Regions from separate parts of the Homo sapiens genome. Here regions 1 and 3 are each linked to region 2. Evidence: promoter capture Hi-C in 16 types of primary human blood cells and fetal thymus (Javierre and others, 2016). All regions are on one chromosome and are shown on one strand. Each heading gives the region's core, a stretch centred on a gene start or on the middle of the fragment in contact. The rest is flanking DNA. Distances are from core to core; before and after follow the strand shown.

The links. Contacts are between HindIII fragments. The CHiCAGO score rates a contact against its expected background, and 5 or more counts as called.
Region 1: a contact is called between a fragment that was not itself captured here and the fragment with the promoter of LRRC17 in region 2, in 5 of 17 cell types (megakaryocytes, M2 macrophages, M0 macrophages and 2 more). The highest score is 9.4, in megakaryocytes.
Region 3: a contact is called between a fragment that was not itself captured here and the fragment with the promoter of LRRC17 in region 2, in 3 of 17 cell types (M2 macrophages, megakaryocytes and M0 macrophages). The highest score is 6.6, in M2 macrophages.

What each region holds. Positions count from the first base shown.
Region 1 is chr7:102,809,006-102,812,416 of GRCh38, reverse strand. FBXL13 (F-box and leucine rich repeat protein 13) reads left to right here. Exons shown (of 21, transcript NM_001394494.2): 21 at 1-1,228. FAM185A (family with sequence similarity 185 member A) reads right to left here. Exons shown (of 8, transcript NM_001145268.2): 8 at 3,192-3,411. Among named protein-coding and RNA genes, the nearest start is that of FAM185A, 62 kb to the right of the region's middle. The HindIII fragment of the contact is 3,439 bases long and covers 150-3,411 here.
Region 2 is chr7:102,911,586-102,914,798 of GRCh38, reverse strand. It overlaps LRRC17 (leucine rich repeat containing 17), which reads right to left and starts at 1,799. Exons shown (of 4, transcript NM_001031692.3): 1 at 1,654-1,799. It overlaps FBXL13 (F-box and leucine rich repeat protein 13), which reads left to right. Exons shown (of 21, transcript NM_001394494.2): 12 at 1,584-1,713. The HindIII fragment of the contact is 1,856 bases long and covers 1,304-3,159 here.
Region 3 is chr7:102,829,655-102,833,317 of GRCh38, reverse strand. It overlaps FBXL13 (F-box and leucine rich repeat protein 13), which reads left to right. Exons shown (of 21, transcript NM_001394494.2): 19 at 344-478. It also overlaps a transcript of FAM185A not described here. Among named protein-coding and RNA genes, the nearest start is that of LRRC17, 82 kb to the left of the region's middle. The HindIII fragment of the contact is 655 bases long and covers 1,653-2,307 here.

The DNA of each region.
Region 1 (3,411 bases), core at 620-3,119, 100 kb after region 2:
GCAATGTCTCAGAAAGACATCTCTTTAATCAAATTTGCACAACGGAGGAATTCTTAAACTATGCTATGCCAAAAAAGATGCTCCCTCAATTTTATGCTAGGAAGTATGGGTTATTAATTGCATATCTACATATTAGTTTTTAATAAGCTTTAATCCGTAGGTTTTAGTATATGTGCTGCCGAAGTGAGCACATCTGTGGGTTTTTACCATTATTTGATATTATGTAACACTGATGTTGACACAGTCCAAGAGAAAACACAACTCTGTTCTGACTGCCGCAAACAAGCCTTGTCAGCAATATCAGATCAGCCTTTTAACCTTTCTATTTCCTCAATTACTTATCTCTCACGTGGAGTTAATTCTCTTTTTGTATCCCACAAGTTTCAAATAAGGATTAAAAACTTAAGATAAAGCATCGTTATTTTGAAAAGTTTTAAAAAGATTGTACAAAGTATTATTATAGGCTACCTTGTATTAGCTAAATGCTTTTAGTAATTCTCCCCCACTGAGGTTGACTTGCAAAGTTTTTGAAATAAGGTAATATTACTTAGCTGTGGAAAGGTTCCTAGGAGTGGGCACACAGGCAACAGAATCATTTGAGTGGGAAGTTTTAGACCATAGCCAAGAGACATAAGATGACATAAGAGTATGATTTTAACCTAAATTTGGAAATTTCTGGCAGCTGCATTAAAGATGTTTTCAAAAATCTGATCCCTAAGTGCTTCATGCACACAACTGGTGGAACTTATAAAAGAGGCAATTGCTTTCTAAAGGAATGACACCTGCACTGGTTAGACCCCGGTAAGAAACACACCCTGTTATGTTCTCCAGAAACCTAGCAGGTTGCTTTACATTCAGAGCTTGCTCCAAAGCTCTTTGAGTAACATCCTTTCTTAAACAAGAACAGAAGACACATTCATTCATTCTGGGGAGACAAATTTTACAGCTACATAAATGAAGAAAAGGAGTAGAAAAAGTGAGCTATGAAAGGAGACCAAGAATAGGGATACAGGTAGAGAAATCTTTTAAGTTTTCGATGCAAACTACTCAAAATATCAAAGATATTAGTTAGGTCTTTAGCCCTTACGTATTTCATATTCATAGGTCTGTGTCCAAGAGAGTAAATTATGGCAGCTTTTTCTTTTTGTCTGGGACTTAACAATGTGATCCAAATATGTACAATTCCATTAGTAGCTTTAAATATAGTTGACTGCTGTTATGCTTATGACTTTTCTGGCTGTGGTTAGCTAATTTATTTTTAGTCATGAAAATGTTTATGTAATTGCATGAGGGTGAAAAAAGATTATCAAAACTGCCTCACTGCTACACAGTTTCCTCTACTTAATAGTATAACACACCACAACCATACCAAATATACCAATGTGTGAGTATCTTTCAGACTTGTATACATTCTGATTTCATGAAGGGTGAACTAAAAGGAGACTCTGAGATATCCTACAAAGCTGACTTTTGTTTCATAAATAAGAAGTTAAAAACAGAACTCTAAAGAAATGGAAAATTAATGAAAAGGAGGCTGGGCACAGTGGTTCATGCCTATAATCACAGCACTTTGGGAGGCCAAGGCAGAAGGACAACTGGAGGCCAGGAGTTCGAGACCTGATGAACATAGTAAAACCCATCTCTATAAAAAATTTAAAAATTAGAGCATGGTGGCACCTGCCTGTAATCCCAGCAACTCAGGAGGCTGAGGCAGGAGGATGCCTGAGGCCAGGAGTTTAAGGCTTCAATGAGCTATGATCATGCCACTGCACTCCAGCCTGGGCAACAGAGTGAGACCTCGTCTGAAAAAAAGAAAAAGATCATCATAAATAATAATATTTGGAAAGGTTTATTAAAAATTAGTGTTTAAGAATGGACTTCTCCTGGCCCGGTGCAGTGGCTCACACCTGTAATCCCAGCACTTTGGGAGGCTGAGGCAGGCAGATCACATGAGGCCAGGAGTTCAAGACCAGCCTGGCCAACATGGTGAAACCCATCTCTAGTAAAAATACAAAACTTAGCTGGGCATGGTGGCGTGCACCTGTAATGCTAGCTACTGTGGTGGCTGAGGCATGGGAATCGCTTGAACCTCGGAGGCAGAGGTTGCGGTGAGCCAAGATTGTGCCACTGCACTCCAGCCTGAGTGGCAGAGCAAGACCCTGTCTCAAAAAACAAACAAAAAAAGAACTGACTTATCTTAATCATAAAAAATATAATCCAAGCGATTTAGGCCATTCTTGTTTTGCTATAAAGGAATACCTGAAGCTGGGTGATTTCTAAAGAAAAGAGGTTTAATTGACTCACGAGGTTTAATTGGTTCTGCAGGCTGTGAAAGCATCGCACGGGCCTCTCTGCTTGGCTTCTGGGGAGGCCTTAGGGAGCTTTTACTCATGGCAGAAGGCAAAGTGGGAGCAGGCACATCACATGGCAAGAGCAGGAGCAAGAGAGAGACGGGGAAGATACCCACACTTTTAAACAGTCAGATCTTGCAAGAACTCACTATCATGAGGACAGAACCAAGAAGGTGGTGGTAACAATTAATGAGAAATCTGCCCACATGATCCAATCAGGCCCCACCTCCAACACTGGGGATTACATTTCATCATGAGATTTTGGGGGACAGATATCCAAACTACATCACCAAGAGATAGGTCTGGTCTTATAGTATAGTTATAGTATTATATAACTTATTTGTTTATTTTAATTAATTTTTTTGAGACGGAGTTTCACTCTGTTGTCCAGGCTGGAGTAAAGTGGTGTGATCTCGGCTTACTGCAACCTCTGCCTCCCAGGTTCAAGCGATTCTCCTGCCTCAGGCTCCCAAATAGCTGGGATTACAGGGATGAGCCACCATACCCAGCTAATTTTCTTTTTTTTGTATTTCTTGTAGAGATGGGGTTTTACCATGTTAGCCAGGCTGGTCTCAAACTCCTGACCTCAAGTGATCCATCCACCTTGGCCTCCAAACTGCTGGGATTACAGTCATGAGCCACTGTGCCTGGCCAGTATTATATAATTTAAATGTTCCAGGAATAGAGATGTTTGAAAGAAATGGAATTCATAAAATATCTTTATACAGTATACCTTTATAAAAATCTATCTTCATACATCAGGCTATAAAATAGCTGTTTCTTTTTTCCTAATTAGCTATATCTTAAGTTACACAAAAGATATTAAGAATCAGTAGCAACTGCTTCACATATTTGTTTTTTATTTACAGCTTAAATTTACATTGATGCCATAAAAGGTACTAAGTAGAAAACCTGTCATGTGAGAGCTACATTATAAAGAATTCTAAGCTAATTGTCCCCACATGATGGATGCCTTTGTATAATCTCCTTTCCTTGAGTGGGAGTGAAAACTGAATGTGATGGGCCATCACTCCTATGAATGTTACATTATATGGCAAAA
Region 2 (3,213 bases), core at 550-3,049:
GGGCGTGTCTTTGGGATATTAGCACTGCTTTCTCCTTCAGGCCCTGCCCACCTAGTCACTGGTGAGTCCAAAGCCTTCCCCCTCGCTCTGTCGAATCTCACGTACACAGCCCTTCCCAGATCGGGATGTGTGTTCTGAATCAAGTAATTCGCTATGGCATGCAAATCATTATATCATATAGATGTGTTTTTCAAAATCTGATTAATGGTCAGTGCTTGTATATCTTATTTCCCATTTATGGGAGGTAAACTTTATTCACCTGTGTGATTTTGAGAGGCAGAGAAGCATTTTCTCCTCACTTTTCATTCTTTTTGCTTTCTAATTTGCTATTAAGCTGTTGCATATCACAAACTAAGAGCATGATTGCTAATTCCATTAGAAGAGCAGATAGTAGTGGGAATCCTTGACCTCTTAAAAAGTGCCAGGCTTTCTGGGCACGGTGGCTCATGCCTGTTCCGAGCACTTTGGGAGGCCAAGGCGGGTGGATCACCTGAGGTCAGGAGTTCGAGGCCAGCCTGGCCAACATGGTGAAACCCTGTCTCTACTAAAAATACAAAAATTAGCTGGACATGTTGGCACGCGCCTGTAATCCCAGCCACTTGGGAGGCTGAGGCAGGAGAATCGCTTGAACCAGGGGTTGGGGGAGTGGGGAGGAGGTTGCAGTGAGCCAAGATCTCACCATTGTACTCCAGCTGGGCAACAAGAGCGAAACTTCGTCTCAAAAAAAAGTTCCAGGCTTTGGAGGGCTTGGGAAATTGTCCACGGAGTGTCCTCAAACTGCGAGCCCTCGTATGGTAGTACAGGCTCATCCTAACTACCCTACTTTTTTCTGGAAGCTGTCATTTTGGTCATTGTGGTAATACCATATTTAATCTGTTTCAACTCCAGCGAGATTTATAGTCTCTGATGTTGCTTTTGATTCTTCTCATGTGTTGCCTGCTTATTTGCAAACTGGTCTTCTTAATCCATGCTTAAACTCTGCATATCAATTAGTCTTTCTTTAACTATAATAATGAAACTGTCACAAACTCATGCATATTTAAACCTATTTTTTAAACTCATTTGCTTATCAGATCTATTTTAAGAGCATGGTCATATTCAGTTTTGCCTTCTGTCCCAAATCCTCACTCTCCTGTAACAGTCTCCATTTAAATGTTTACAAAGGATTTGTCCTTTTATATATTTTGCACATTATTTTGGTACTCCAGAGATAAAACCTAAAAGCAACAATACACTCTGCAAATTTGGTTTCACTTCCAAACAATATGATTGCCTCCCCCACCTCACACACACCAAAAAAGCTTTATCCCAGTCAACTTTCTTAAATATCTAGGCAAATATTATTGAACTATTAATACTTTCACTTGAAATGTATTACAAGGTATTAAATGTATTGTGTGTTACCTTATATAACACTGTAGTCTCCTTTAATTAACAGGTAGAGAGTTAACAGTAAAGTTAAATGTTGAACATCTGCAAGAAGAAGAGTTGAATTTACAGTTTTCTTTGTCATAGTGGCTTAAGAAAGATTTGAGAGAACAACGGAAGTATAATACTTTCCTTCCTCTCTTTTGTCTTTTCAGGCACTTCCACAACTTACAGAATCTTAGTTTGGCTTATTGCAGACGGTTCACAGACAAAGGCTTACAGTACCTGAACTTGGGGAATGGATGCCACAAGCTCATCTATCTGGACCTCTCTGGCTGCACCCAGGTTTGTCTTTCAGTCTTCTCTTTGCTGCGGTGTGTGAGGAAGTTCTCCAGAGAATGGGCTGCATTCAGCCCTCACGTTATACTAATGCTGTGCACGGACCGCAGCACACTTTTCAGAGGTTTTAAATTACATGGCCCCAGCTGCTGAAATTTTCCCCAGGATCGCTATTATAGGCTCTTGGCTTCCTTCCACTGGAGTGTCACACAGACAAACAGGCAGAGCTCATTGGATGAGGAAACGGACCACTTTTGTGGAGACAGTCTGAGCACAAGTCTAAAGCAGAGTCCAAGTCCTGAAAACTCTGGAGTTGCTACCAAGACACAAACAAAGAGAATGTTTTGAGGGAGAATTTTGCATGGGATTCCTGAAAAGTCAATTAACTCCCACATGGGTTTTTTTTTGGGGGGGGGGGGGTAAAATGCTATAAGTGATAAATAGGAAAAGAAAATACAACAAAAACTCATAATTTAAAAAATTGCATTACACCGTTGGGCTGAATAACATGAAGATTTGAGATCTGCGTGGGAAAATATTTTAAGTTTGAGGGAACAGGACTTGGAAAGTTGGGCAGAAAATTGGATCAAGTTGCAGAGGATAGGGCATGGCGCTTTGGATGTAGCTACTGCCTCATTGATAGTTTCTTCTGCTTTAATTTCAAAAGATTTAAGCCATAATTCTTTTAACTTATTTTCTTCTGCCTCTCTGTGTATTTTATTAATTTGGTGTCATAGTATGTTCATTATTCTATGAGAATAATAGCATAGGTGAGAACTGGCTGAAATATTGATAGTTATCATTTCTTGAGTCATTACCATATGCCAAGCATTGTGTTGAGTGCTATACACAGATCAGATTTACTTCTGATACAGTGCTGTGGTGGTATGTATTTACTATGCTTATTTACAAATGAAGAGACCAAGGCTCAGGGTGGTTGAATAAGTTGCCCAAGTTTGCACAGCTGATGAAAGCACATGGTACTAGTACAGTTTTAAGCATCTGTTGCTAGATACTGGGGCAGGCAGAGTTCCCTGGGATAGTGGGAAATACAGGGGCAGCATGGGTTTCTCCCCCAGGGTTCTTGAATGGATAGAATTCTTACCTAGTCACCTCCACTGACATCTTGTGGTATCCTGATGCCCTGGGTGGTCTGGAGGGAGTTGGGGCAAGGAGGGGAGGATTCTAAGTTAGGGCTGTAAACATCTAACATTCATATTTGTTTAAAACTGATCTGCTGATGTGTAGCTTTTTAAACATCAACATCTACCATAACTTTATGACTGAGATGGCATTGACGTTCTCCTCAGCATGACTGAATTTTAGACCAGCTTCTTACTGACTCTAGGCCCTGACTTCTTGTTTTCTTGTTTCTTAGAGCATTTGTTTTAGAAAACTTGGAATTATAAGTTCTTTCTCTGCCTACTTTGAGATGTCTTTTTAACAAAAGCTTCTTGACAGTTTTACAACTCAGGAAAGTCTTCCTCAAGGACCTGGGATCTATCC
Region 3 (3,663 bases), core at 731-3,230, 82 kb after region 2:
CTGTCAATCTTGGAGTGTCTGCCATATAATCTTACCCTCAGATTTCTTTTCTTCTACTCATTACTGACCATATGAGTCAAACTTCATTAGACCTAACTTCAAGAAAACCAAATTTTGTTAGCAGGCATTTGAATATCACTAAGCTGTTAAGCTGCTTTGTGAATATCTTTTGCTATAAACAGATGTTGGATGTAACATGGGTTTTTTAAATTATTTTTTGGGGGCATCAAGATCTAACATCTGTATTTCAGGGACTGAAATGTACATTTAATAAGCTACTATAAGTAAGACAGTTCTAGATGACTAAAGAAAAGAAAAAATTTGACCTTGGAATTTTTTGCAGGCATTCTGCAAAAGCTCACTGATCTTGGAACATTTGGATGTCTCTTATTGCTCCCAGCTGTCAGATATGATTATCAAAGCACTGGCCATTTACTGCATTAACCTCACATCTCTCAGCATTGCTGGCTGTCCAAAGGTATGTGCAGGAGTCAGGGCTCAAACACATCCAATTTAAGCACTGCCAAGGGACAAGGCAGGACAGCGATCAGGGCTGGACTCAGAATATGTTCTCTTTGCCATGGTTGAGGTATTCATTGGATTTTTTTCTTCTATCCTCAAATTGGAAATAGCTTATGATTCCACTGGTGTCAAAGTAGAATTTTCCAAAAGTTAAAAACATAATTCTCATACAAATATAAACATGTGTCAAAGATTTCTTTAATTCACTAATGAGAGAACCAACAAAATGACAAAGCCAGTGCGTAGAGCATTTGAATGAACTTAGTATTTGTAGGAACTGATGAAAGAATGTTGCATTAAGAGTGTTAGGTTAGATCTAAAAGTGTTTTACAAGTTATTAAATCCATAACCTTGGGGTTACAGTTTATACCAGATACAAATAATTTGCATCTTTCCTGGACAAAAATATAACAACATATAACTTCATTGAGCTAGGGCCTTAGTGGACAGTAAATGGTATGTCAAACAAAGGCATGATTTCCTATAGAATTCTCCAGGTAGGCCTGTTAAACAGTGTTCCAGTTTGACACTCCAAGGACATACCATCATCTTTTGTGTTATTTTCAAGTGTTTTATAATTTTTCTGGGACCTCTGTATATAAATGAAGTAAGTACTCATTATGAAAAATTTGGACTACATATAAAAGCTTAAGGGAGAAAGTAAATATCCATTGTCCTGTCACCACCTGGACATAACCATCGCTGGTATTTTATTCTTCTAGATTTTTTTCTATGCACAAAAAGATTAGAAATAGTTACAGAAAGTTTGTGTTTTGCCTTGTTTTTTAAAATAATAGAATCATACTTTCCAAAATACATTGTAACCTACTTTTTAATATACTATGGACATATCTCCATGTAAAGAACTAGAGATCTCAGGTTCTGGATTAATAATAGTAGACTGAATATACACATATAATTTTGTTCCTCTTGAAACGCTACCAGAACTAGAGATGAAGAGTGAGGGCCCATATGGATAAGGAAAACAGGAGAGGAGATAAGAGCAACAAAAATTTGGAAGCTTGAAAATAGATGGACTAATTTAGCAGACCAGAGACTGCTTTGAATCCTAAGCCAACAGTAGAGAAAGCTGGAAAAAAAAATCTGATTTACACCACAATCTTCAAGCTTGGGAGCACCGTGTACCTTTGGAACTGGGTTAAGAGTGGGGATGAAAATAAGGGAGACTGAGTTAGAGATTCTTAAGAAGTAGATAGATCTCTAGATTCCAGCCCCTACTCCATAAATCTGGGCAACTGTCTCTCCCCACCCCAAACAGAAGCCTGGAGATTTATTTCCTAAATTCTGGTTCTTCATCCCTGACACTATTCATATTTTGGACAAGATAACTCTCTGTAGTGGGGTGTGTGTGTGTGTGTGTGTGTGTGTGTGTGTGTGTGTCCCGGGCACTGTAGATGTTTAACAGCATGCCTGCCCTCTACTCACTATATGTCAGTAGCACATAAGATCCCATCCCTCCAGACCTTACCACATGTTCTCTGGTGGAGGTGAGGGCCAAAATTGTTCTTGAATTACCCACTACTCTAGAGATACTAAAACAGAGGGTTGCTAGGCTAACTAAGTGACTCAATGCTGAGTGCAGAGATATTCAAGCACTTTTTCCAACTGAGCATCAAGAACTTGGCTGCCAGATCTTCTTCTCCAGGTGGGAGATTGGTAGCCTCTTCTCTGGGAACCCTGACTAGCCCAAGATGAAAGACCTAAAATGACTGACAGGGGTGGTTCCCAACAAATAACACACGTAGATCATCCTTCATTGAAGCTTACAATAGAGATGCGTGTACTCTGACCTTCCGATTAGTTTTTAGTCCTCCACTCTTAATCGTGAACAAAAGGATTACCAGACATAAGAGGAAAGTCTCTAAAGTGGAAGATATTGATCAACACAAATTAACAGGAAAAACTTGGAGTTAGCAAAATATGAAGAAGGAAGAAAACTAAGAAATTTTTTTGAAAATCCTCAGAAATTACAAGGTTATTAACAATCGTGTTCTCTTCTATTGTACACACTGAAGGCTTTTGTTTACTACAGCATCACACCAACTCTCAAGATGCCCTACGCTTTATTTAATCTAGAAGTTCAGCTTCTATGTTGTTTGGTTTGTATGGTTAGCTAATTGTGCTGCAATAAAAAGGAGGAGGCAGCAGGGAAAAAGATGTGGTAAACCGTGACAAAACTAAGCCAAAAAGTTCACAGCAAAATTATTTTTGTTTAATAATATACTTGTTTAGAACTAGGGGAACCAGATGTCTTTCTGGTCAGCATCATCTGGTTCTATTAGTGAGCTGGGTCAAGGGACCCAGAACACTAGAAGCGCTGACCAACTGACTCTCTGCAACTTAAACAGTGATAGTTCACAGAGATTCTTGCGTTCATAGCACACAGACATATGGGCAACACATGGCTTAGTGAGAAGTGAGAACTGCCCTGGCTATAAAGCAGGCACAGATGGAGACTGGGTTTCTTAGTGGCTCTAAAGCAGAAAGTAGGAGAATGAGAAAAGAAAAGGCTCCAGTGCAAACAGAAAATAGGGCAGAGGATTTTGTTTGTTTGTTTGTTTGCTTTGGTTTTTTGTTTTTTGTTATGAAGGCTGAGGGAATTCCTTCTGTAAACTGTGCATGGCTATTGTCTTGCAGCCCAGAAGCTAAGGGGGATGTTAAACAAATATGCAAGAAATGCATCACTCTGTATCAAAGGTTTAGAGGGAGAAAGAGGAAGAAGGAAGAGTCAATTATTTTAGAACGCTGATACAAAGGAGTAGAAAGATTTAGCTTTACCATCTGAATTGTTCTGGTCAGACTGTGGGTCAGATGAGTATCCTGATTGAGAAGATGTGGGGACCATCATCTGGACCAATCTGAATACTCCTCAACTCACCCTGAATTCATAAGGCTGTGGTCCAACCTAACATATTCCACTTATGTTGATTTTGATGAGCCGTAAAACACATTGGTGTCTGGCTCATCATTCTGTGCCAGGTTTCCCAAAAGTCCACAGGTGAATTTTGAATGGTCACCTTATCTATCCCCAGAAAGGCCGGCTTTTCCTTGCAACCACCTCACCTCGAAGGTCAGTTAGTAGTACTGTGACCTCATCCTACTCGACACTAAAATGCCAAG